Linked DNA regions of Homo sapiens: regions 1, 2 and 3 are each linked to region 4. Evidence: promoter capture Hi-C in 16 types of primary human blood cells and fetal thymus (Javierre and others, 2016). All regions are on one chromosome and are shown on one strand. The core of a region is centred on a gene start or on the middle of the fragment in contact, and the rest is flanking DNA. Distances in the headings are between cores, read along the strand shown. Region 1 has its middle 7.6 kb from the start of PWWP2A. Region 2 overlaps SLU7 (spliceosome associated SLU7). Region 3 overlaps PTTG1 (PTTG1 regulator of sister chromatid separation, securin). Region 4 holds the start of SAP30L-AS1 (SAP30L and GALNT10 antisense RNA 1).

Evidence for each region. Contacts are between HindIII fragments. The CHiCAGO score rates a contact against its expected background, and 5 or more counts as called.
Region 1: a fragment that was not itself captured here is called in contact with the fragment with the promoter of SAP30L-AS1 in region 4 in 1 of 17 cell types (non-activated CD4 T cells); the score reaches 9.5 in non-activated CD4 T cells.
Region 2: a contact is called between a fragment that was not itself captured here and the fragment with the promoter of SAP30L-AS1 in region 4, in 1 of 17 cell types (total CD4 T cells). The highest score is 6.3, in total CD4 T cells.
Region 3: a contact is called between a fragment that was not itself captured here and the fragment with the promoter of SAP30L-AS1 in region 4, in 1 of 17 cell types (total CD4 T cells). The highest score is 6.5, in total CD4 T cells.

The regions. Positions count from the first base shown.
Region 1 is chr5:160,123,476-160,130,523 of GRCh38, reverse strand. No RefSeq gene overlaps it. Among named protein-coding and RNA genes, the nearest start is that of PWWP2A, 7.6 kb to the right of the region's middle. The HindIII fragment of the contact is 527 bases long and covers 2,611-3,137 here.
Region 2 is chr5:160,404,066-160,410,574 of GRCh38, reverse strand. SLU7 (spliceosome associated SLU7) reads left to right here. Exons shown (of 16, transcript NM_006425.5): 7 at 1,878-1,925; 8 at 2,115-2,246; 9 at 2,507-2,604; 10 at 2,762-2,829; 11 at 2,960-3,099; 12 at 3,946-4,107; 13 at 5,440-5,544; 14 at 5,695-5,766; 15 at 6,019-6,135. Among named protein-coding and RNA genes, the nearest start is that of FAM200C, 7.3 kb to the right of the region's middle. RefSeq lists a silencer at 5,586-5,786. The HindIII fragment of the contact is 2,522 bases long and covers 2,897-5,418 here.
Region 3 is chr5:160,426,152-160,432,923 of GRCh38, reverse strand. It overlaps PTTG1 (PTTG1 regulator of sister chromatid separation, securin), which reads right to left. Exons shown (of 6, transcript NM_004219.4): 5 at 5,051-5,209; 6 at 4,185-4,322. The coding sequence ends at 4,243. Among named protein-coding and RNA genes, the nearest start is that of PTTG1, 7.7 kb to the right of the region's middle. RefSeq lists an enhancer at 405-494. The HindIII fragment of the contact is 5,478 bases long and covers 2,640-6,772 here.
Region 4 is chr5:154,441,304-154,447,960 of GRCh38, reverse strand. SAP30L-AS1 (SAP30L and GALNT10 antisense RNA 1) reads left to right here and starts at 2,139. Exons shown (of 3, transcript NR_037897.1): 1 at 2,139-2,223; 2 at 4,481-4,599. SAP30L (SAP30 like) reads right to left here and starts at 1,964. Exons shown (of 4, transcript NM_024632.6): 1 at 1,156-1,964. The coding sequence starts at 1,356. RefSeq lists silencers at 1,321-1,430, 1,561-2,090 and enhancers at 1,667-2,167, 2,221-2,340. The HindIII fragment of the contact is 8,481 bases long and covers 1-6,657 here.

The DNA of each region.
Region 1 (7,048 bases), core at 1,625-4,124, 5.7 Mb before region 4:
ATGGTGAAATCCTGTCTCTACAGAAAAAAACAAAAATTAGCCAGGCATGGTCATATGTGCCTGTAGTCCCAGCTACTCAGGATGCTGAGGTGGGATAATCACCTGGGCCCTGGGAGGCAGGGGTTGCAGTGAGCCAAGATCGCACCACCACACTCCAGCCTGGGTGACAGAGGGAGACGTTGTCTCAAAAATAAATAAATAAATAAAATAAAAAAAGAACAATCTAATAGCTGAGAAGAAAGTCAAGTAAATAAATGTTCCTAGAATTTTTTTTAAGGGGATGGGTACAATCAGGGATGTTTAGAATCTAAGGTCAGATTTGACTTGTGGGCTTGGAACTAGAAGGTTTGATCAAAAAATGCACACCAATAAGCCATTTGCCCAAGGATCCTGTCCCAGGGGATGACTAAGGAAACAAAAAAATAGCCAAAAGATCAAAGTTGCCAAGAGTACATTCTTTGGAGACTGACAGGCCTAGTCCCATCCTAATCTCCATCTCCAGCTTTCAAAGTTTTCTTTGACCTCTCTGAGGCGTCGGTTCCTTGCTGGGTTGTTGCAAGGATTAGTGTTCATTTCTGCAAGACACATTGCATGAAGCCTGGCCAACCATTACGATTTACCCAGCATCGTCCCACTTTTTTTTTTTTTTTTTTTGAGTCAGAGTCTCGCTCTGTCGCCCAGGCTGGAGTGCAGTGGCGCGGTCTTGGCTCACTGCAAGCTCTGCCTCCCGGGTTCACGCCATTCTCCTGCCCTAGCCTCCCGAGTAGCTGGGACTACAAGCTTCCGCCACCACGCCTGGCTAATTTTTTTAAAAAATATTTTTAGTAGAGACGGAGTTTCACTGTGTTAGCCAGGATGGTCTCGATCTCCTGACCTTGTGATCTGCCCGCCTTGGCCTCCCAAAGTGCTGGGATTACGTAAAGGCGTGAGCCACCAAGCCTGGCCCACTTTTTTTTTTTTGAGACGGAATCTCACTCTATTGTGAGGCTGGAGTGCAGTGGCATGATCTCGGCTCACTGCAACCTCTGCCTCCCGGGTTCAAGGGATTCTCCTGCCTCAGCCTCCCACGTAGCTGGGGCTACAGGCATGTGCCACCACACCGGCTAATTTTTTTGTATTTTTGGTAGAGACGGTGTTTCACCATGTTGGCCAGGATGGTCTCGAACTCCTGACCTCGTGATCTGCCTGCCTTGGCCTCCCAAAGTGCTGGGATTATAGGCGTGAACCACCGCACCCAGCAGCATCCCACTTTTAACACTGAAAGTCCTGCATGCCAGGAAACCCCTCAGTCCCAGGCAAACCAAATGGTTCACCTAGAACCACCCCCTCCACAGTGGTGCCTGTGGGGTCAATTTTTGAGGAATTATGTTGACATGGGAATTGTTAGGAATATACAAAGAAAAAGGGGGAGCTGTGTGAAAGGACACCCGAAGACTATGGGCAAAATGTTTCAGGATAGGACCCACATTTTATTACTTGATTCCCCCAAGCTCATCTGGTGGCTGTCTCTGCCTGACACATAGTGCTCATAAATGGCTGGATTAATGTTGGCTCTTATTATGGAGATTGTCCTTAATATTGAAATTTACCTTTGTAATATGATGGCTCTTTCACCTGTGGTGTGAAGTGAGAATCTGTTATCAGAAGCAGGTGGTAAGGGATGTGTGGTATCCATATAGAGCAGGAAGTTTTATTTATTTATTTATTTATTTATTTATTTATTTATTTGAGATGGAGTTTCGCTCTTGTTGCCCAGGCGGGAGTGCAATGGCGTGATCTTGGCTCGCCACAACCTCTGCTTCCTGGGTTCAAGCGGTTCTCCTGCCTCAGCCTCTCAGTAGCTGGGATTACATGCGCCCACCACCACGCCTGGTTAATTTTTGCATTTTTAGTAGAGATGGGGTTTCACCATGTTGGCCAGGCTGGTCTCGAACTCCTGATCTGAGGTCATCTGCCTGCCTCAGCCTCCCAAAGTGCTGGGATTACAAGCATGAGTCACCGTGCCCAGCCCATTTGAAATCTTTTGTTTTCATTTCTTCAAACTTTTAAGTTGTGTGGTATCAGTTTCTGAAATTGCTCTCAGTGATCCCTGCCTCTTGGCATACATGCCCTTGTGGAATCCTCTCTCCTTGTAAATAGCTGGACCTGGTGACTTGCTTCTGAACAGAGTGCAGCAAAAGTGCTGGGATGCCTCTTCTGAGATCACACGACAAAATACTGCGACTTCTTTCTTGCTTACACCAATTTTTCCTCTGGCTCTTCTTGTATGCTTACTCTGACAAAGCAAGTTGCATGTTTTGAGCTGTCCTATGGAGCAGACCCACGTGGCAATTAGTTGAGGGCAGCCTCTGGTCAACAGCCACCAAGGAACTGAATCCTATAAATCAGGGGTGTCCAATCTTTTGGCTTCCCTGGGCCACACTGGAAGAAGAAGAATTGGGCCACACATAAAATACACTACACTAACAAAAGCTGAAGAACAACGACAACAACAACAACAACAACAACAACAACAAAAAACACCACAAAAAAAATCTCATAACGTTTTAGGAAAGTTTACAAATTTGCGTTAGGCTGCGTGTGGCCCATGGGCCGCTGGTTGAACAAGCTTGCTGTAGATGAAAATGTGAGTTACCTTGGAAATGGACTTTCAAAATACATATGCCCAAATATAAATATTTTGGAAGAAATTTATCATAAGGAATTGGATCACTTGATTGTGGAGGCTGAGAAGTTGCGTAAACTGCCATGTGCAAGCTGGGGACCCAAGAAAGCCTGGTGTTATTCCAGTCCAGGTCCAAATGCCTGAGAATCTGGGGAGTTGATGATGTACATCCCAGTACAAGGACAGGAGCAGACTAATGTTCCAGCTCCAACAGGCAGGCAGGCAGGCAGCAAAAGAAGTGAATTCCTTCTTCCTCTGCCTTTTGCTCTATTCAGCCTCTCAACAGATTGGATGATGCCCACCCACACTGCTGAGGGCCATCCACTTTACTGAGTCCACTGATTCAAATGCTAATCTCATCTAGAAACATTCTCTCAACACCCCAGAAATATGGTTTAATCTGGGTACCCCTTGGCTCAGTCAAACTGGTACGTAAAATTAATCATCATATGGATCCTTCCCTAGTTAAGCTTTCAGATGAAACCACACCCCCAGCTGACACCTTGATATGTAGCCTTGTGAGAGACTGAAAGAGAGGATTTTGCTGGGCACAGTGGCTCATGCCTGTAATCCTAGCACTTTGGGAGGCTGAGGCAGGTGGATCACAAGGTCAGGAGATCGAGACCATCCTGGCTAAGATGGTGAAACCCTGTCTCTACTAAAAATACAAAAAAATTAGCCAGGCATTGTGGCGGGCACCTTTAGTCCCAGCTACTTGGAAGGCTGAGGCAGGAGAATGGCATGAGCCCAGGAGGCAGAGCTTGCAGTGAGCCGAGATCGTGCCACTGCACTCCAGCCTGGGTGACAGAGCGAGAATCCGTCTCAGGAAAAAAAAAAAAGAAGAGAGAGGACTTAGTTAAGCCTTGCCTAGGTTTCTCACTCTGAGCATGGTGATGAAATAAATGTATGTTGTTAAGACACTAATACCACTAGCAGATATAGATAACTGATATAAATTTACTTACAGAAAAGTACACGTAAGTGCAGAGCTTGATGAATCATTACAAGCTGAACATACTTGTGTATCCAGTACCCAGATCAAGAATCAGAAATTATCAGAACCCCAGAAAGCACCATTCATATTCTCTTTCCGTCACTAGCTGTGCTGCTCCCCATCATCTCCTATCAAGAGTAACCCCCATCCCGACTTCAAACAGCATAAATTTGTTTTGTTTGGTTTTGTACCATATATAAATAGTATCGGTCAGGTACAGTGGCTCATGTCTGTAATCCCAGCACTTTGGGAGGCCAAGGTGGGCAGATCACTTGAGGTCAGGAATTCAAGACCAGCCTGGCCAACATGGTGGAACCCTGTTTCTACTAAAAATACAAAATACAAAAATTATCCAGGCGCGGTAGCAAGCACCTATAATCCCAGCTACTCGGGAGGCTGAGGCGTGAGAATCACTTGAACCCAGGGGCTGGAGGTTGCAGTGAGCTGAGATCACACCACTGCACTCTAAACTGGGTGACAGAGCAAGACTCTGTCTCAAAAAAAAAAATCATATAATATGCACAAAATAACTTTTTAGCAGATTCTCAGAGAGTTCCCCCTATACATGATACATTCAGAACTACTGACTGACACACACACACACACACAGAGGCAGAGGCAGAGATGACAAATGACATATTTGTCATTAGTTACCCATCACAGCCTTGGTCTGGGAGCAGGTGATCTAATTCCAGAAGATAATTTTTTATTTTTTTTATTTTTTTTTTTTATTTTGAGACAGAGTCTTGCTCTGTTGCCCAGGCTGGAGTGCAATGGCGTGATCTTGGCTCACCACAACCTCTGCCTCCCCGGTTCAAGTGATTCTCCCATCTCAGCCTCCTGAGCAGCTGGGATTATAGACACCCACCACCACGCCCGGCTAATTTTTGTATTTGTAGTAGAGACGGGGTTTCACCATGCTGGCCAGGCTGGTCTCAAACTCCTGACCTCAGGTGATCCACCTGCCTCAGCCTCCCAAAGTGTTGGGATTACAGGCGTGAGCCACCACGCCTGGCCTAGAAGAGAAATATTGATTACCTCATCAGAAATAGGCCCAGAACACGAGGAGCAATTCACTCAGCCCCTATGGTTTGATGGCCATGTTCCCCATGTTATCTTCTGTCTATAATTCTATTTCCTGAGAAACCAGGCCCAGAGATAACCACTAAGCCATATTTAGCCATAGTTATTCCTCTCCAGGGACCAATACCCTTGTGTTTGGGTTTTTACTTAGACTTACTCAAGTTTGGTTATTGAGGATCAGCACCCCTTGAGTATGATCAACCACAGATACAAGAATGAGTTTTTGGACTTAGTTGCTAACAACTATTGAACTATTTTTGCTATAATTGAAGGTCTACGCTAATTATTTATATATGTTACATAAATAAAAAAGCAGACCAGGCTGGGTGCAGTAGCTCATGCCTATAACCCCTGCACTTTGGGAGGCTGAGGTGGGCAGATCACCTGAGGTCAGGAATTTGAGACCAGCCTGGCCAACATGGAGAAACCCCATCTCTACTAAGAATACAAAAAGTAGCTGTGCATGGTGGTGGGCACCTGTAACCCCAGCTACTTGGGAGGCTGAGGCGGCAGAATCACTTGACCCTGGGAGGTGGAGGTTGCAGTGAGCTGAGATCGTGCCACTGCACTCCAGCCTGGGTGACAGAGTGAGACTGTCTCAAAAAAAAAAAAAAAAAAAAAAAAAAAAGAGAGAGAGAGAAAGAAAAGAAAAAAAACAGACCGGGTGCAGTGGCTCATGCCTGTAATCCCAGCATTTTGGGAGGCTGAGGTGAGCAGATCACTTGAGGTCAGGAGTCTGAGACCAGCCTGGCCAACATGGTAAAACCCCATCTCTACTAAAAATACAAAAAATTAGTTGAGCATGATGGTGGGTGCCTGTAATTCCAGCTACTCTGGTAGCTGAGGTATGAGAATTGCTTGAACCTGGGAGGTGGAGGTTGCAGTGAGCTGAGGTTGTACCACTGCACTCCAGCCTGGGCGACAGAGCAAGACTCAGCCTTGAAAAACAAAACAAAAACCCCCCTAGTAATCTCTATTGGTAAGTAGTTATTATTAAGATGTTTTACAAATGAGGAAATAGGTTAAGTGATTTGCCTAAGATCATGCTCAGATCATATAGGTAGTCAGAGGATGACTGGGGAGTCAGATACAGTTTTATTTATTTTTTTATTATTTATATTATTTTATTTATTTATTTATTTATTTATTTATTTATTTATTTATTTATTTATTGAGACGGAGTCTCGCTCTGTTGCCCAGGCTGGAGTGCAGTGGCACGATCTCGGCTCACTGCAAGCTCCGCCTCCCGGGCTCATGCCATTCTCCTGCCTCAGCCTCCAGAGCAGCTGGGACTACAGGAGCCTGCCACTACGCCTGGCTAATTTTTTGTATTTTTAGTAGAGATGGGGTTTCACCATGTTAGCCAGGATGGTCTCGATCTCCTGACCTTGTGATCTGCCCGCCTCGGCCTCCCAAAGTGCTGGTATTACAGGCGTGAGCCACCGCGCCCGGCGCTATTTTTTATTTTTATTTTTTGAGACGGAGTCTTGCTCAGTCACCCAGGCTGGAGTGCAGTGGCACGATCTCGGTTCACCATAACCTCCACCTCCAGGGTTCAAGCAATTCTCCAGTAGCTGGGACTACAGGTGCATGCCACCATGCCTGGCTAATTTTTGTATTTTTAGTAGAGACAGGTTTTCACCATGTTGGCCAGGCTGGTCTCGAACTCCTGACCTCAGGTGATCCATCCACCTCGGCCTCCCAAAGTGCTGGGATTACAGGCGTGAGCCACCATGCCTGGCTTATTTTTTTTTTTTTGAGACGGAGTTTCGCTCTTGTTGCCCAGGCTGGAGTGCAATGGCGCGATCTTGGCTCACTGCAACATCTGCCTCCTGAGTAGTTCAAGCAATTCTCTTGCCTCAGCCTCCTGAGTAGTTGGGATTACAGGCATGCACCACCACTTCCAGCTAATTTTTTTTAGTAGAGATGGGGTTTCACTGTGTTGGCCAGGCTGGTCTTGAACTCCTGACCTCAGGTGATCCACCAGCCTCGGCCTCCCAAAGTGCTGGGATTATGGGCATGAGCTACCGCGCCTGGCTTTATTTTTTATTTTTGAGAAAGCATCTCACTCTGTTGCCCAGGCTGAAGTGTAGTGGTAAAATCATGGCTCACTGCAACCTCAATCTCCCGGGCTCAGCCTCCTGAGTAGCTGGGACTACAGGCACACACCATCATGCTTGTCTAATTTTTGTATTTTTTGTAGAGACAGGGTTTTGCCACGTTGCCCAGGCTTGTGTCAAATTCTTGAGCTCAGGTGATCTGCCTGCCTCCGCCTCCCAAAATGCTGGGATTACAGATGTGAGTCA
Region 2 (6,509 bases), core at 2,908-5,407, 6.0 Mb before region 4:
TTTTTTTATATACTTTAAGTTTTAGGGTACATGTGCACAACGTGCAGGTTTGTTACGTATGTATACATGTGCCATGTTGGTGTGCTGCACCCATGAACTCGTCATTTAGCATTAGGTATATCTCCTAATGCTATCTCTCCCCGCTCCCAGGATGCTTGGATATTAAGATGAACCACATACAGTAGATTTAGAGACTTAGCTGTCACTATAGAAATGTATGTAAATGTCTTTGGTGAACTAGCAAATAGTGGGAACTCAAAAAAATTATTTTTTACAAAATATTTATATTTCTAATTTTGAAAGTAACACATATTAAGTGGAAAAAAATTAGAACATAATATAAAAAAGAAAATATCCCTGTGTTAATTGTGAACATTTTGAAGTAGGCCTTTCCAGGTCTCTCTTGTCCACATATACCTGTTCATGTGTGCTAGAATACAAAATGTTTCTTACATGAATCCATCTTTATATATTCATTTATTACCTTCTTTTTTAATTTAACAACATAGAGTACAGTGGGAACGTGTTTTCTGTCTATATTTATAGACCTATAGCATCATTTATTTTTGTATGAATTCACATGGCTCAAAAATTAAAACAATTTAAGAAGATGCACAGCGAAGTCTCTCCACCCCTGTTTCTATCCACCCTAACACTAAACTTCCCCTCGCCCCAACTCTTTTGTGTATGTGTGTGGCTCCTTTCAGACTGTCTTGAATAAATACAAATACAAATATATACCCTTATCCTATCTGTCTCTCCCCTCCCCTTTTTTTAATCAAAAAAGTTAGGAAACGATACATACTTTTCTGCCCCTTGGATAGAATCACTTTTAATGGCCGTTCAGTGTTCCATGGAGTGCAATACATTATATAACCAGTGATCTATTAATTTGATTTTTTCCCAGTGTTTTGAAAAAACATTGCACATATACAACACTGCACATCACATTCTTATACATCTTTATATAATTGACATGATACTAGGATAACCTTCTAGAAGTGTATTTCAGTGAGTTTGTATTTCTAAAATTTTTATGACATATCACTTAGCCATCATTCAGAAAAGCCATGCAGATTTATGCTTCCATCTATATAGTATATATACATACACGTGTTTCTGCATCTCCTCACTAATGCTATAATGTATTCTCTTTTTTTTTAAGTATTTTTAATCTTTGAAGCCTTTATGAAGGGACATGATGAAATACCACGTTAGTGTAGGCATTCTGTGGAGTTAGAAAGTATTCTGACCAATTGCTAGCGAAGAAAAGTGTATCCTTGTGACAAGGAGTTTGGCCTCTCCTTAAATTACAATACTGTGTCACTTGTAGATTTTTTTCATTGCCCAAACTTCACTTTGGCTGTGAAGACATGAACCCAGTAATATTTTCTTTTTGGACTTACTAGGAAACTAGTAACGTTTAATGAATACAGTATGTCTGAAGACTAACACATTTAGAAATTAATATTTATTGGGTACTTTGGACATCTTAATCTTTCTGTTACCATTTTGTGGTTATAATCTTAATTAAAATTCTCTTGAAATTTGCTGGCTTTATAGACAGTGTAATAAAATTATTTACAATGGCACTCTTGTATTCAGAATTTTTGCGCTCATTATAACTGAGAAGTGTGAGAGTTTGTTCAGTTAGAATTAAGTTTTATTATCTTAATACTTATTTATAAGTTACATATTATATATTATATAATAAATATTTATTATATATAATATAAATATAATATATAATAAAATATATTTTATTATATAAATATATTATTTATAATAAGATAATAATACTTTATTATCTTAATAATAAAGTTAATTGGATTAAGTGGAATGAGATTATGAATGATTTTTCTTCTTTCATGATGCAGAATTCTCCAAAACACCAGTGGGGAGAAGAGGAACCAAATTCTCAGATGGTAATACATATTTGCTGTCTCTGAGTATATGTTAAATTTTTAAATTTCTGATGGCTAATAATAAATAACACTAATAATAGCTTTTAAAGAACACAAGTAAATAAGGGTTTGGTTAAAGGGAAAGGGGAAAAAAAAGAACTACATGCTGCTTTCTTTTCTTCTTACTTTTCCTTCCTCTCCCTCTTTTAGGAAAAAGATCATAATAGTGAAGATGAGGATGAAGATAAATATGCAGATGATATTGACATGCCTGGACAGAATTTTGACTCCAAGAGACGAATTACTGTCCGGAATCTCAGGATTCGAGAAGATATTGCAAAAGTAAGTCTTGTCAGCTTAACATACATATTTGAAAAATACTTGTCTTCCCAGCATAAATTTTATCGACTCTGGGTAGCATATGGATAATATAGTCAGAGTCATTCTAAGATAAGGTTTCATTCTGTTTTTTCTCTTCACCTGAACCCCAGAAATGTATACACACATTTATTTAATTGATCATGTTCAACTCCTCCAACTAGTCTGCTGAAATCTTTTTGCTGTGAGTAAACATTAATTCTTTAAATATTTTTTTCTTCTAGTATTTGAGGAATTTAGATCCAAATTCTGCCTACTATGATCCAAAAACTAGAGCAATGAGAGAGAATCCTTATGCCAATGCAGGAAAGAATCCAGATGAGTAAGTATCAAGTTAAATGTACAGATTTTAAGATGAGAGAAAGTTAATTGTTTTCTGACCTGACCATAGATGGTGTTCATTTTAATTCAGATTCAGTTTTACGAATTAATTTTCCTTAAATCAATCTCTGAAACATTTTCTTTATTTGTATTTACAGAGTGAGTTATGCTGGAGATAACTTTGTTAGGTACACAGGAGATACCATTTCAATGGCTCAGACACAGTGTAAGTGTTTCCTCTATGTCAAGCCATTTTATATCAGCTCATAAGACGTTTGGGATTGTTTAAAGCTTGTTTTCAAGAAGCATACAGTAATGCAGCTGCCAACTCACTAAGATGTTTTGAATTACTCTAGTGTTTGCATGGGAAGCCTATGACAAGGGATCTGAAGTGCATCTACAGGCAGATCCTACAAAGCTAGAGCTGTTGTATAAGTCCTTCAAAGTCAAAAAAGAAGATTTCAAAGAACAGCAGAAAGAAAGCATCCTGGAAAAGGTAATTTTGACCAAAATGCTAAAGAAGAACTTCTGTTAAAGAGAAGTTACTAGTTAATAAGCGTTAGTTTTACATTTGGAAAATAATGCAAAGAGAGCCCTCTTAATCCATGAAGAATAGTCCTTTTCTTCCTTTCTCTTAGTCAGATGGTAATTTTGTATGAGCTTTTGCAGCAAAACAAGCTACCTCAAATCTTAATAGCTTAAAATAAACATTTATTGTTTCTCACAGTTGGCCAAGTCTCCTGGTCTGGGCTTGCTCAGCTGAGGTTAGATGATGAACTAAGATGGCCTCACTCTTGTGTTTAGCAGTTAACAGGCTAATTGTCCTAAGGGGACCTCTTCTGGGACAGCTCATCTCCACCCCATGTGGTCTTTCATCCTCTAGTAGGGTAGCACAGCTTTTTAAAATGGCATTCTCAGAGTTCTAGAGAGTGGCAGCAAAAAGTGTGCTGTGGTACATAAGTGCCTTTGCTTGCATCACATTTGCCAACTTTCATTGGTCAAAGCAAATAACATGGTCAGGCCCAGATTCAAGGGACAGAGAAAGACTTCGTCTCTTGATGGGAAGAAAAGCAAAGCCCTGTGGCAAAAGGGCATGTATAGAAAGATAAGAGGAATTTATGGCCATCTTGTAACTTACTGTACTCAACAGATGAATAGCAACTGAGACATCTTCTATTTGCCTCAGAAAAAATTTGTGGCTTTTTTTTTCCTACTGTGCTTTCTATAACAAAACCCAGTAAAGAATGTTCCCTTTCTTTCTGATTAGAAATAAATGTTTTCTGGAAATTTAAATGCAAATCAGGTTGTAAAATGTATTGAATAATGTCCAATGTCCTTTTAGTATGGTGGCCAAGAACATTTGGATGCCCCTCCAGCTGAATTGCTTTTAGCCCAGACTGAAGACTATGTGGAGTACTCAAGACATGGGACAGTCATCAAAGGACAGGAGCGGGCTGTTGCCTGCTCTAAGTATGAGGAGGATGTGAAGATCCACAATCACACAGTATGTGCTAAACTGGAACAATTTTGTGTCCTTGTTGGTTTTGCTCTGTATTGCATTTTTCCACTACAACTTTATTAGCTAACCATTTGTATTCTCTATGCTTTAAAAAAAAAAAAAAATTTTAACTGTTTCATGGAATTTTTTCAAAAATAGAAAAATTTTGAAGGAATACTATGTTCATCTATATACCCATCATCTAAATTCTGAAATTTTTAACATATTGCCTTATATGCTTTGTCTAGTTGTATGTGTGCATATGCACAGTTTTACATATATATGTAAAATACACATATATACACACATATAGTTTATGTATATATTTATTTGACTGAAACATTTGGAAATTATGTATATCATGACATTTTATCCATAAACGCTGTATCACATATCTCCTTAAAATGAGGATTTTCTTCTATATAACCACATCGACATTATTGCACTTCAGAAAATTAACATTATATCACCTAATATCTAGTCATTAATCACATTTTCCAAAATATACAGAAAAATGCCTTTAACACCTATTTTTTGTTTTAGTCAGAATTCGTTTCAAATTTCTTTTGATCGTTATGCGGTTATTATGTCTCTTTTCTAGAGTGTATCTCTTCATTTTCATGACGGTGACCATTTAACAGATTAGGCCAATTAGTTTGTAAATTGTCTCATATTCTGTATTGACTGGTTCCTAGTAGTGTTATATAACTTGTTTCTCTATCCCTGTATGTTTTATAAATAGGAATTTAGGTCTAACGGCTTGATTGGATATAAGTTAAATATTTTGACAAGAATATTTAATAAGTAATGTAGTATATTCATATTGCATTGTAAACATCATAAAGCATATATTGTCCTTTGCTGTTCTCTTGAAGTAACCAAACTACAATTGTCTCTCTTAGTTGAGGGTCAAAAACCTAACTCCCTATAGGAGCCAGACCAGTGATCATACATGAGTGAAGTGAGCCAGGCAAATTGTACAAACTGGAGAACACAAGCCCTATCTAATGGGGCATCCACTGTTCAGCAACAGCTGATTATTGCCAAGTGGTTATATAGGCCCAGAATTTCCCACTCCTACGTTTTTCAAGAGAAGTCAGATACCCTAAATTTTTTAATAGGCTTTTGGGAATAGAATTTAAGAGTTTTGTAACTACAGGTCCTGCTTCTCACACTTCAGGTCAGACTACCTTCTCCCTGTTAGCCAGCCTTGAATCCCCATAATTTTTCTCCCAAATTACCTTTAATGGGCTGTATTATTTTATACTCTTATCAACAGTATACAGAAGTTTCTAATTTCAGCTTCCTTTTTAAGCTTTTTAATTTCTCTCTCTGCAGCATATCTGGGGATCGTACTGGAAAGAAGGCCGATGGGGATACAAATGCTGTCACTCTTTTTTCAAGTATTCCTATTGTACTGGAGAAGCTGGGAAGGAGATTGTTGTAAGTAATTGTCTTTGGTTCTTAAAGGTATAAAACAACCGAAGCTCCTAAGTCAAACTAAAACATGCTGTCTCATGTTTCAAATTTTAACTTGTTCTTAGATGATTAGTAACTATGACACTCAACTCAAATTACATGTATTTCCCACAGAACTCTGAGGAGTGTATTATAAATGAGATAACTGGGGAAGAATCTGTGAAAAAACCTCAAACCCTCATGGAGGTAAGTTGATAATCATTTGTCCTGAATTTTTAAGTCCTGGAGGGAGGGCTTTAAAACCTGCACCTGAGTTTTTTTTTTTCTTTTGAAACAGAATCTCATTCTGTCGCCCAGGCTCGAGCGCAGTGCACGGTCTGGGCCCACTGCAACTTCCGCCTCCTGGGTTCAAGTGATTCTTGTGCCTCAGCCGCCCAAGTAGTGCACCTGAGCTTTGTTTTCACATTAATAACACTGCATTTCAATCCTCCCTTTCAGCTGCATCAAGAAAAACTGAAAGAGGAAAAGAAGAAGAAGAAAAAGAAAAAGAAGAAGCATCGAAAGAGCAGTTCAGATAGTGATGATGAAGAAAAGAAGCATGAAAAATTGAAAAAGGTAATTTGTGAAGTCTAAATAGTAAAAGTGACAAGTAGCAGTATTCTTTGTTTTTTGGGTTGTTTTTATTTTTTTGAGACAGGGTCTTGCTCTGTTGTCCAGGCTGGAGTGCAGTGGCACGACCGCAGCTCACTGCAAGCTCCACCTCATAGGCTCAAGCAATTCTTCTGCCTCAGTGTCCCAAGTAGCCGGTATTACAGGCACATGCCCCCATGTGCAGCTAATTTCTGTATTTTTTTATAGAGCCAGGATTTCACCATGTTGCCCAGTCTGGTCTCAAACTTCTGAGCTCAGGTGAACTGCCCACCTCATCCTCCCAAAGTGCTGGGATTGCAGGCATGAGCCACCGTTCTTGCCAGTATTATTTGTCAAGG
Region 3 (6,772 bases), core at 4,129-6,628, 6.0 Mb before region 4:
GGTCATAACACCGGAAGGGGAGAAGGGACATGTGTGGTGAGCAGAGCATACACATGGGCTTTTGCCAAGCCCTCGCCTGTACTAGGGGAGAGGGAGAAGAGCCTGAAATAGGTGTGAACCTCAAGTTTTAAAATAAGCAAAGTTTAATTTTAACCAAAAGTAACTGGAAAGCTATGAAATCTGTCTGAATGCTGCTCAGCATCACCCACCACCCAGAAAGGAGGAAAGGAGAACAGGTCAACAAAACACAGTTGGTGGCAATAAAAAAAGAAAGAAACTCAGTTTATGTTTCCCCAGCAGAGCTGGAGCTTCTCAGTAAACAGGTTATACCTGGGCTTGGTGGGGCACAGACAGACAGGTGACCAGGAACTGTCTAGGGTAGGAGAAGCTGACCTCCTAGACCTGTGCCTGCCCCCACCACTCTCTCTCTGGAAACCTTGAAGTCAGGCTCCCTGGCCCTGATACCGTGTGATGCTAACAGTGGGTACAGTGCAGTCGCTGGGTCTCTAGAAACCTGGATCCCCAGGGACTGATGACATCTTTACTCATTTCAGCAAGTCCCTGAAGCACCTGCCACATGCCAGGCAGAGAATACACCAGTGCACAGGACACACCTCATCCTGCTCCCAGTAGAGCGGAGGAGAGGACCAGACACAGCCGAGCATGGTAAGTGCAAAGGCTTCTGGTAAGAAAAGCATCTCATTGGAGTACTAGAGATGGACAGGTTTGGCCAGGTGAATCAGGACAGGAAATTACACCCCCAAGGAGCCACCACAAGGCCGTGTGAGCCACACTGAGCAACTCAGACTTCATCCTGGTGGCAGAGGGACATCATTCCAAAGTAAATGAAGTGGGGAATGAGTGCTTGATGAGCATGGGTTTATTTTTGGGGGTGATGAAAGTGTTCTGAAATTAGACAGTGGTGATAGTTGCATATACTCTGAACTAAAAGCCACTGAATTGTACATTTTTAAATGAATTTTCTTATGTGAATGTTACCTCAAAAAAAAAAAAAAGGCCGGGCATGGTGGCTCACGCCTGTAATCCAAGCACTTTGGGAGGCCAAGGCCGGCAGATCACGAGGTCAGGAGATCGAGACCATCCTGGCGAACACGGTGAAACCCTGTCTCTACTAAAAATACAAAAAAAAAAAAAATTAGCTGGGCGTGGTGGTGGGCGCCTGTAGTCCCAGCTACTCGGGAGGCTGAGGCAGGAGAATGGCATGAACCCGGGAGGTGGAGTTTGCAGTGAGCCAAGATTGCACCACTGCACTCCAGCCTGGGCGACAGAGCAAGACTCCGTCTCAAAAAAGAAAAAAAATGAAAGGAATATCTAGAAGGAACTTTCAATTCCAATCAAGATGGAGTAACAGGGACCAGATTTACTCTCCTGCCTGAAACTAAAAAACAAGACAAAATATATGAAATGAGGGCTGCCCAAAGAGTGAACATCAGGCGACAGAGAACAGCGATGCCTGAGGAATGTGAAATAAGTGAGGTGAGGCCGATGACTATCCTTACTGGCTACTTTTGAGTTTCCAGGCCTCAGAGTGGGGAAGAAAGGGAGGCAGGCAGAGCCCAGTGAATTTCCTGAGTTGAAGAGACAGAGCAGAGTCAGGCCAAGGCAGGCCAAGTTTGCAGAGCAGAGCACTGGAGAGGAGAGAGCTGCACAGAGAGAACCCTGGAAATTTGCAGAGGGTCTCCCTGTAGTATTCAGAAGAGCACTGATCCATATAGCTGAAAAGATCAGAGGGAAGAATTCCTGAAGCCCACACAGGGCTGGGAATAGTGTCTGCTCCCACCAGCTAGACAGGAAAACCTCATAATTCAGGGGGCAGCAGAGTCCTAAGCATCTCACACTTCAGTAGTAGGGGGAAATGAGCCCTGGGCTAAATGCTGCTCTGGTGATGCCTAACATTAAAGGCAAGTCTCAAATGAATCAAATTGCTTCTAGGTACCTTACCCATACTCTAGAACAAAGTTTAAGAATATTAATAGAAATGTAAAAATACCCAGCATGAAAAAAGGTAAAATCCATGGCTGGCATGGAAAGTAGAAAAATACAACTTGTAATAAGAAAGAAGAAATGGTAGCAAGATAATGGCATTCCTGACTGTTAGCTCCTACTATAAGAAGGTACAGTATCCTGAGAGGCAGGCTCAGAGGTAGTGTAGAGAAATGCAGAAGGTTTACAGAGTTGTAAAGGTATGAATAAAGTCTGTCTTATTTCAAAAAGTGTCAGAACAAAATAGCAACAACCCCCACAAGATGCAAATTATCTGTATTAATGGAGGAGCATCTGCTTAAAGTTCTCAGTCTCAGCACACATTATGCACATTGCAATCTGATTAACAGCAGATGAAAAGATCAGATCCCTCTATACTCAGTTCTGACCCAGAGGACGGCAATTAACTGGTAAGGGACTGACTAGTCCCCTTGCTCCCAGCCCTTGGTTCCCTCTACCACAAAAGACAATTTTCCAAAGCTTCAGTTTGTGTTGCAGAGTATGAAAGCCATTCAGAACTACACTTTGCTTTTTTTGTTGTTTTTGTGAGACAGCATCTCACTCTACCACCCAGGCTACTCTACCACCCACTTTACCACCCAGTGGCATGACTATAGCCACTCAAGTTGTAAGCTTGAACTCCTGGGCTCAAGCAATCCTCCTGCCTCAACCTCCTGAAACTAGGACTACAGGCATGCGCCACCACACCCGGCTAATTATTTTTAATTTTTGAGAGACAAGGGTCTCACTACATGGCCCAGGTTGAACCCAAGCTCCTGGGATCAAGCAGTCCTCCCACCTCAAACTCTCAAGTGCTGGGATTACTGGTGTGAGCCACTGTGTCCAACCTATACTTTGGTTTTCTTAGCAGCCCTATTTTACCTGAGGATGCTAAACCTATTACTCTCCCCTAAAGCCAAGTGCCCTAGTAGTCTTATGGTATTATCTTCTCCTAGAAGTCTGCCTTTCCACTAATTCCAGAAAGTCACACTGATTCAGTTGTATTTAGAAGGTAAAAAGTTTTAAAGTCAGGATAAGCGGTTGTAGGTGTTCTTAGTATTTCATGCCTAATATCCTTCAGCTTCCTCCAATGACAATGGCAAAGTGTTCACATTCTAACTTGACCATAGAAGCTACTGATATATCAAGGGAAAGACTTCTTATATAACTTAGCATCAAGCAAGGGTCAAATTCAGGTTACTACATGGCCCAAGCGAGTAAAGTGAGTTAAGTAGGCTAGGTCTCAGAAGAGACATGAAAGGTAAAAGGATCACTTCAGTTCTCACTGAGGCCATTTAAGGCAGGGTCTGTGGGATAGAAAGCCTATACTCCACCTAAAAGGCAGCAGCCTGCAATCTACCTCCAGCCCCAGCAAGTGTTGGAAACAGGGTCTACTATGGACACATCTCTTTTCAAGAGAATCTCCAAAGCCAGATTGGTGAAACACTGGAATTTTAAATAGTGGAAATGATTAAGGTTTTTAAAATATCCACCCCCTCCCTCAAAAAGAAAACCTATGAGCAACCATTTGCCATCTCTATTTTGATTCCAACCTCAGAACTGAGATCAAAATACCAGCTCTAATAATTTTCTAGCTCTTCACATCTTTGACAAATCAATGAACTTCTGCGCTTCATTGTCTTACCTGGGAAAGTGTCAAACATTAAACATAATAATGCTTCTCAAATACTCATGTCCAACACAAGGTAAACAACTAAATACAGTTTCCTATAGGTGGAGTGTAGACCTTACTATCAGTAAATTATCTCCAGTGATCTTTAAGGAATCTAATTGAAGATCCCAAGGAGGCTGAATTCTCAGATTTAGAGCCTTTCAATACTGAGTATTAAAGTCATTAGAAACTAAGTAGAACCGGCAATAAAGAATGCCCAGCAATAGATACTTAATGAGTTGGAAGTAGCTCTTCTAATTAAGAGATCTAATAACTGTCACTAGTTAATGGCCACAAAAAGTCAATAAAGTACACATTGAGGGGTATACTTTTCAGGAAAAAACAGTGGCAGCTTCTAAAATAAGCTGTTAAACCAAAAAGATTTAAGTTTTTAGACATCAGACAAATCTCTATTGTCACATTATAGACTCTTTGTTAAACACCTCAGCTAGCTTTCATGTTATTTTAAGTAACCTCCATGGAAAAGCAACCACAATACTAGGAAGAATCTGTTAAAGAATGCTTTATTAATACAAATACACACAAACTCTGAAGCACTAAGAAATTTAAATATCTATGTCACAGCAAACAGGTGGCAATTCAACATCCAGGGTCGACAGAATGCTTGAAGGAGACTGCAACAGATCTAGAAAACAGGAATCTCTTATTAAAATTTCTGCAAATCCTTGAGTCATTGTCCATATCAACATAGACATTAGCTGTCAATCAAAAATTCATGTTTTTCCCTTTGTCAAATCAATCACCTGCATCCCCTCCTGACACATTTTTTGGAATGTGTCTGTGGCCCCAGAATTGACTTTCATTAGGAAGTAAGTTTTAGAAGTATCTGAATCTCTATTGTTCTTAGAGACCAAAGTAAGAGTTAACAGTCTCACTAATGTAACTTATTAGGACAAATTATCCCACATCAGAACAAACAGAAAACATAATGTTGGCTTTGACTACCAGTTCAAACGAAGACCTCAGACCTTCTGCAGTAAGAAGTTATTGTCAGTCTATGCTACAGCACAGGTGTTTTGATCTTATATTAGCTTTGGATATAACATGGAATCATCATTCCAAGCAAGTTTATTATATATGCTTCAACTTATAGCCTAAGAAGATGTAAGTGAGAATTAATCTTTTGGCTGTAGTAAGACTATCCAGTTTCCAGAATAACAATTTTACTGGGGCATTTGGGACTGAAAAGCAATATTAATCGAGAATAGTTTATTTTTCTGAAAACTAATCCTTGTCATTTGAAGGACAGAAATTACTCACAGGCTCACCTCCCGCACAACTCTTCCCATGGTAATGGAAGTGTTATGAAACAAATTGTTTGCAGCCCTTCCAGAAGGGCACTTGCTCACTTACTGGATTCCCATGGTGGAGAGGGCATCTTCACAGGTGAAGGGGGGCCCAGCTGAAACAGCTTTTCAAGCTCTCTCTCCTCGTCAAGGATCATGAGAGGCACTCCACTCAAGGGGAGGTGCGCAATCTGGTGCTCTTCAGGCAGGTCAAAACTCTCAAAGTCTGTTACAGAGAGAAAGCGTTTTTGTCAGGGCAGCAGTTCTTAGTGTGGGCTGTAGATCCCTTGTGGTCTGAGACCCTTTGAGGGGGTCCATGAGGTCAAAACTATTTTCAAGACAATATTCACACCTTTTTCCACTGGGTTGACATTTGTAATGATGGTACCAAGGCAGCGGTGGAGAAAGCTGCTGGTGCCTCAACACAAATCAAGGCAGTGACAGTAAACCATATTAGCAGTCTCTCTGTTCTGCATCCTTCTTCGCTTGTAGTTTAAAAATGCCAGTTTCACTTACTGTCACTTCACCATATGCAGTAGAAAGTATTAATTTTATTAGCTCTCCATCCTTGAGATGTCTTTTTAATGTTCTGTGTGATAAAATGAGAAGTATGCCATAAAGCACTTCCACTGTACACCAAAATACGATTAAAAGGATTTGTGCAACTATATGAGTTGCAAGCTAAAACTAGAGAACATTTTCCTGGAATACTGTTTTTACTTGAATTAACAACTGCAAGAAATCCCATGGTCACTCAGACCTGGGTGCTTGTCACACTTTTTCTTAAAGGAATGAAAGAAGTCTATCACCTCAAGGAAAACTGACAGCCTTTGTTGCCAATGGCAGAATATAAAACGTTAAAATTTTGTCAAAAATTAAAAAATGAATATTTTTTTTTTGAGACAGAGTCTCACTCTTTCACCTAGGCTGCAGTGCAGTGGCACAATCTCCGTTCACTGCAACCTCTGCCTCCTGGGTTCAAGCGATTCTCCTGCCTCAGTCTCCCAAGCAGCTGGGATTACAGGTGCGCCCACCACACCCGGATAATTTTTGTATTTTTAGTACAGACGGGGTTTCACCATGTTGGCCAGGCTGGTCTTGAACTCGTGACCTCAGGTGATCCGCCCGCCTTGCCTCCCAAAGTGCTGGGATTACAGGCGTGAGCCACTGCATCTGGCCAAAAAAAGGAATTTTGGAAAACTTATCTGCAGTCATTAGCTTGACAGGTGCTTAGACTTTTCTGATGAGATCAGTTGTGGTATTAATGTGCTTTTGATATTGTATAATAAAGCATCTCAACATGTGGGTATCTACATATCTCAGTGAACCAGTATTTCTGAATGGTCAATGCAAGATAGATGCAAGAATATAAGATACATTCCAAGTGCAAAATAGACCAATGGATTTTACTGTCAAGATACAAAATGCTCATTGATACGGTTTCAGATTCCACATTGCAATTTTATATTCAGAAACAGCCACTTGTGGGTTTTAGTGTAGTGGCAAAAAAACCTATCCACACTTATCTGAAAAGACTATTAAAAACGTATCTGTGTGAAGCCAGGTTTTCTTCGTATATTTTAACAGATGTAAGAGTGAATATAGAATTTGATAAGAATCCAGTTGTCTTGTATTAAGCCAAATAAAGCAAATTTTCAAAAATATAAACCATGCCATTCTTCTCCAAACTTTTCCAGAACAAAAAATATTTTATGTTAAAAAAAAATTTACATTAATGTAATGTGATTACTTAGTGAATAAATATCTTAAGTTTCTCAGTCTTAATTTC
Region 4 (6,657 bases), core at 890-3,389:
AAAAAAAAGAAAAGAAAAAGGACAGGGGAGATTTTTTATTTATTAGAGACTTAATGAAGACTTATGTATAGGGCTTGGAAGTAAATTAGATAATATCTTTAAGAAATTAACCAGCCTCTTAGGTGCTGTGTGTACCTGACACCCTCACTTCCTATCTCTGGGCCTGTTTCAACCCTAAAATCAGAGGGGAAACGTGCACTCCCTTTCAGTTTAACAAGCAGTCTCTGATTTCCTCCAACTGTGGAGAAATTCTGATTCTAGAAGAGAATGGATGTTAACCACCTAAGCTCTTAGCTAGTCTACCTGAATATTAAATATCCCCTTAACTCATTTCCAATTCCTAATCATGAAGCAATCACTTAAGGCTTGTAGCAACAGATGTCAAACTAAAAAGTTCTTAATTGGTTGACAATAGGCACAGCTTCAGAATTGTTAACTAGAAGTGGTGAAGTCACACGGGAGGAGTTTCCTATAATAAGCCACAAAGAGCAGGGCAATCCGATTTAAATTTAAATATCCACCCCCTTATTTCAAAAGAAACTACCACTAAGAAAATTGATTTCTTTTCTTCCCCCCTCCAGTCACATCGACTGCAAGAGCCATTTCTCAAGACCTGGCCTTGGCCTTATTTCTGCCACATCCTAGAAAAACCCATTCCCACAGCTGCCTGCGAAGCAGCTAGCTCGGTGACCCTCTGCTGATACCGAGGATGCGGGAGCCAGGGAAGTAACTGCCACCTTTCTCTGTCTGAAGGAATAACAGGGTTCCTAGAAGGAGAGAGAAGTTGGAAAAGAGCCGGGTATCTTCATCACTCCCCGCTCCGATTCTTGCTCCTTCAAGGGCCAACAAAACTAACCCACCTCTCCCTGCTCTAAAGTCTAAACCAATAAAACAAGTTGGAAACTGCTGTCCAATCTTTCCAGGCAGCAGGAGTCCTGAAGCCCCCGCCCCCATCCTCCCGGATCTGGGTAGAATCACAGTCAGAGCATGTCAGCGCTGGAGCGGCCTTTGAAATGCGGAGTCCAACTCAGTTCTGCAGAGCCGGGGCGGCGAGGCCCACGGCGGGGAGTGCCCGGGGAGTCCCGACTGGAGCCCAGGGCAGCGGACGGAGAGCTGGGGGCGCCGGGGCCCAGACGCGAGCGGGGGCGGACTCACGCTCTTGTCGATGTCCAGCTTGAGTTTCTTCTGCGAGATGCTCTTCTGGACCCTCTTGCTGAAGGAGGCGTTGCCCGCGGGCCGGACGCAGCGCTCGCCGTCCTCGATGAGGCAGCAGCTCTGGCCGTAGCCCGGGGCGGCGGCAGCTGGGGCGGCGGGGGGCCCTTCGCGGCTGTCCTCCTCCGTGCTGAAGCCGTTCATCTCCCCGCCCCGGGCCGGTCCCTCTGGGGGAGGGTCCCCGGTAGGCCACTCCGCGGCCGCGCTTGCCGCGGGGCAGGTCGCTGAGACCCCCGCAGCCGAGGGTCCCAGAGTCCGTCTCCAGCCCGGGCGCTGCCCTGCCCCGCGTCCGAGAGGCCCGGCTCCCTCGGCCCCCGGCCCTCCGCCTCCGGAAGCCCCCTTCCTCCCGGCTCGAGGCCCCGGGGTCGGCTCCCGCGGCTCGCAGGGCCCCGCCGGGGGTCACCCGGAGGAGCCTTCTGCCGGGGGCCCAGAACCGTAACCCTGCAGCGGGGGTGTCCGGGAGGGCGTCCCAGGAAACAGCCGCTCCCCAAGGACTCCGGGCCTGGGTTGCCAGGGGGTTTCGAAGGCCCCTGCCGGCTCCCGCCTTCTTTCGGCAGCGGGGCAAACTCGCTGCCGGGCAGCTCCCCCGGGGTGGCGCGGCCTCCTCGCGCGGGGCCCGGCCTCGAACCCGCGGCACCCGGGCCCCGCGGCTCGTCCGGCCCACTCCACCCCTGCAGCCACTCGGCTGCGCCCCGAGTCCCGCGGCAGCCCCTGGGCCGCCCGGCCGCCGCCCGCCGAACGCTCCGCACCACAACAGTTCGCTCCCCCCGCCCTTCGCGGGACAGCGGAAGTCCCGCCTTCACGCGACCATTGGTCTCATTTGCTCTCTGGGCGGGGCTGCCGCCGCCGCTGGCGCGTCCCATTGGGCGTCGCCGCCGCCAGTCTCCGGCGCCAGGCTACTTCCTGGACTCTGCTGGGATGGGTTCAAAGTAGAGAAAGTGGAAGAGGAAAGAGTTACCCCAGCGAGAACCGGGAACCGGGCTGCAGACTCTCCGGCCCGGGGGAGGGATGGTGAGCAGGGGCCTGGCTGGACCGAGGGCCAGACTCCAGGAACAGAGGAACACATTCGGGGACAGACAGTAGAGACGCGGACGGGGACGCTGAGGGACAGACTTGGAGGAGGGGCATATGAGGGGACCTAAAGAGGATAGAGGTGCTATCAGGAGAGGGGCGGACTAATAAAATGAAAGGGCCAGGGCCAGAGGACTCGCGGATCCGTGGGAGGAAGGGTGGGTGAAATAGGACGGAAAGCCAGTCATGGCGGGAAAGACAGAGGGACAACCCCATACAGATACGTGGAAAGACATGCGGAGGAGGTGATGGGGGGATCTTGCAAGGCAGTCGCAATATTGGGGGTAGCCGATACCTTCCAGAGTGTGGAGAGTGGGACTGGCTTGGACGGCGCGGAAAGAAAAGGAGAGGGGGAAAGGAGACCCCGAGGGGTTTGGGCGACCCCTCCACTGGGAAGAATGGGAAGTCCGAATGAGGTCTGGAGGGTGGACTAGGTGAGCCGCGGGCAAGAGAAAGGGCTTCAGGGGAGATGAAGTGAAGGCTGGGAGTGGGGCCCAGGGGCCAATCTCGGAATCTAGATGGGGAAGGGCTGCGGTGTCTTGGGCTCTCCCTGGAGCTCCAAGCTGTAGTTCTATTGCTTTGAGTCCCCGGGTCTACCGGCGAAGCGACTGCGCCCTGCCAAGACCCTGCGCTTGGTTTCGGCGCCCAGGGCACCACCTCCCCTCCAGGAGGGGCCGTAGGATATGCTCTGGTCCAGCACTTCAGTCATGCCACTCTCCAACTGCGCAGCATGGGGACTGATGAGGTCCGAAAGGCGATGGGACCAGCCCAGGGTCGTGTAATTATGTAGGGCTGGGCAGCGTTTTATGGGCAGGGAAGAGGGGAGGCTGTGTTAGGTGATAGGTAAGCAAGTGTTAGTACTAGAGGGCATAGAAGGAGCTTCGGGTTTGTGTCCTGTTGTAAAAGGGAAAGCTACCAGTTTCCATGTTTAGAAGCAGGTGGCTGGTGATCTTAAGTTTTGCTCAGTGGCCATAAATGCATTTGTAGCATCTGAACTGGTAATTTCACACGTGGGACAGCCATCGTCGGAAATAGGCCTATCAGAGATAATATGAAGTACAGTGATGTTCATTATGGAATTATTTATAATAGGAAAAATAAAATAGAACCTCAGAGTTCCAAAAGGGAAGTGGTTAAGTAAACTACCTAAAATCTTCAGAAAGAGATTGTGCAGTTAGCATTTGAGGTAGTTTCAACATCAATGTAAACATTTTCTATAGAGAATAATTCACCATTAATTCTTAAATAAAGAGCTGATGAGGAGTTGGAGAAATGCTTTTTTTATGATAAGTAAAAAAATTCAGGATATGAAATTGCATGGAGGATACGATGTCTGTACATCTATGTTTAAAGAAAAAAGAAAACTATTGGTATAAAAAATGCACCAAAGTACTAACAGTGATTATTTCTGGGTAGCAGGAATATGGCTGATATTTTTCTCCTTTTGTTTAACCTTTGCATTTTCTTTAATAAGCATTATTTTTGTTTTTACAGTAGAAAAAATAGAATAAAAATTAATGGAAAAAAGGCACAGATTAATAGGAGTCTTCCCTCAGAGTTCATATATTCTGTTCAAAAGTAAATTGTTGTTGAACTCATTATGTATACCAAGTATAGGGTTGGCTATAGGAGGAGGATGAAACATAACCCTTGCCCTAAAAGAATATCTCCTATCTGGGGTGTTCAGACATATATGTAGAAAACACTTGGGTATCTGTACCAGGCACTGTGTGATGTTGGGTCCAAAGTCAGTTGGTATGGATGAAACCTCCATGTTCCCCATATTTTTCTAAACAGCATTTGTATTCAATGCTAGGCTATTGCGGTACACAACTTCTTCTGCACCAACTTGCCCTGGTCTAAGGGGATCTAGGACCTTTTCTTAGGTGCTCTGTCTCAGTCCTTGAGGTAGTGGCTACTTATATCTGCTATTCTTGTATTATTTAGCATTCTTTTTTCTTTTTACTAGGCAGTTCCTTATAACTGTAGGGGACTACAGTCCCCTATTATAATTAATACATGTTTATATTATTATTTTCCTGTTCAAATTACTGTAAGGTTACTCTTTCCTGATTACACCCAGCCTGATACGCCCAGCCAGCCTCTGTGTGTGTGTGTGTGTGTGGTGGTGGTGGTGGGGGAGTTCATGCTTGTAACTGTTCTTTTTTTTTCTTTTTTCTTTTTTCTTTTGAGACAGAGTTTCACTCTGGTTGCCCAGGCTGGAGTGCAATGGCGCGATCTCGGCTCACCGCAACCTCTGCCTCCCGGATTCAAGCGATTCTCCTGCTTCAGCCTCCCGAGTAGCTGGGATTACAGGCATGTACCACTGCTCCCGGCTAATCTTGTATTTTTAGTAGAGATGGGGTTTCTCCATGTTGGTCCGGCTGGTCTCGGACTCCCAACCTCAGGTGATCTGCCCGCCTCGGCCTCCCAAAGTGCTGGGATTACGGGTGTGAGCCACCGCTCCCAGCCATTCTTTATGTATAATTTTGTAGTCTTTATTCAAGGCATACTTTATCATAATCTTTCCCCATATTGCTATGTAGTTTTCACAGTTGCCATTTTTTATGTAGTACAGTGCAGTTTCTGTAGTACAGTACACTGTGGTGCTAAAGACAGTTGGCTTTGCTGTCAGAACTGGGTTCAGATCTGGACTCCACCCATGACTTGTTATAACATGTTAGCAATTATTTCACTTCTTGAGTCTGATGAAATAGGTGGTGACAAATTCTTAACACAGTGCCTAGAACATCATAAGTGGTTAATAAATGTCAGCTATCATGATTCCTACCGTAGTTACATTTGCCCCCCCAGAAGTTGGATATCTTTTTTGTGTGGTTCTGTATAATTATTTTTGAACATAAAACTTTTTATTATTTAGGATTATTATTTTTTCTGAGTGCCAGAGATGGAATTGTGGTCAAAGACTACAAAGTTTTCCAAGGTCTAAGGGCCAGGCTCACTGACCCTTTTTTTCTTTCCTGTCTTTTCTGCCCCTGCCCTCCCCACCTTCATTCCTTCCATCCAGTCAGGCCCCAGTTGAGAAGTTATCCCCCAACACGCCTTAAAGAATCAGAGTTGGATACCTTGGCCAAGCAGTCACAGTCCTACAAAAGCTCTTTGCTCTCCTCTTTCTCTCCTCTTTTCCCTTTTTGGGGAATGTGGCATATGGCTCTGGGAGTGATTTCCAATGACTGCCCTTCTTTGGGAACAGGTGGACACTTAGGTGTCCAGTGACTGGGTTTCTAATCCTTGAGTGGCCCCTGATTGTCTAATAGTGAATACTTGCTGGGTTAAGCCTGTGGCTCAAACTGTACTGGTCAGTTTCTCTCCAGCAAATCTGCTGGTTGGAACTGACAGGTGGTTGGTGGGAGTGGTTAGAGCAGAGGCACTAATGGTGGGTCCTGCCTCCTGTGTTCCCCAGGGCCTGGTAGTTGAGCTTGCCCTTGGGTTCTGTAAGGTACTCATAGATATGTTGGCATGAACCAAAAGTATCTGAGACAGGTCTCAATTTAGAAGGTTTATATTGCCAAGGCTAAGGACGTGCACGTGACACAGCCTCAGGAGGTCCTGACTACATGTGCCCAAGGTGGTTGGGATACAGCTTGCTTTTATACATTTTAGGGAGACATGAGACATCAGTCAATATGTACAAGATGTACATTGGTTCCATCTGGAAAGGCAGGACAACTTGATGCTGGGGCTTCCAGGTCATAGATAGATAAGAGACAAATGGTTGCATTCTTTTGAGTCTTTGCTCAGCGTTTCACTGAATATACAATTTACATGTGGGGAAGGGGTGAGGTGGGTGGTAGAGGAATAGTCATTTATGCCTTTGTCTCAGTGGATCTGCATTTTTACATAAACAACAGGGCAGAAGAAGCAATCAGATATTCATTTGTCTCAGGTGAGCAGAGGGATGACTTTGAGTTCTGTCCTTTGTCCCACACCTATGAAGATAAGCTATCCATTTACATTGCCAGGGTGAAATTCAACAGAACTGTTTTAGGGTAAAGATCTTGATGCCCACAAGGAATTTCCTTGTGGGCAAATTGTGAGGGAGGTCTGTAGCTTTTTTATCTTTGTAGCTATCTAACTTAGGAATAAAATAAGAGGTAGGTTTGCCTGATGCAGTTTCCAGCTTGACTCTTCCCTTTGCCTTAGTGATTTTGGTGTCCCGAGATTCATTTTCCTTTCACATTGTTCTGAGACTGGAAGTTCTGCAAGGACAGGGAACTGTCTCTATGGCTCATCATAGTTTCCAGTGCCCAGGCACTTGATTAATATTTGTTGAATGGATGGATAGATGGATGATGGATGACTTGGCCTCTGGAATCAAGAGGCAGTACAGCATAATGGTTGGTATAAATCTAG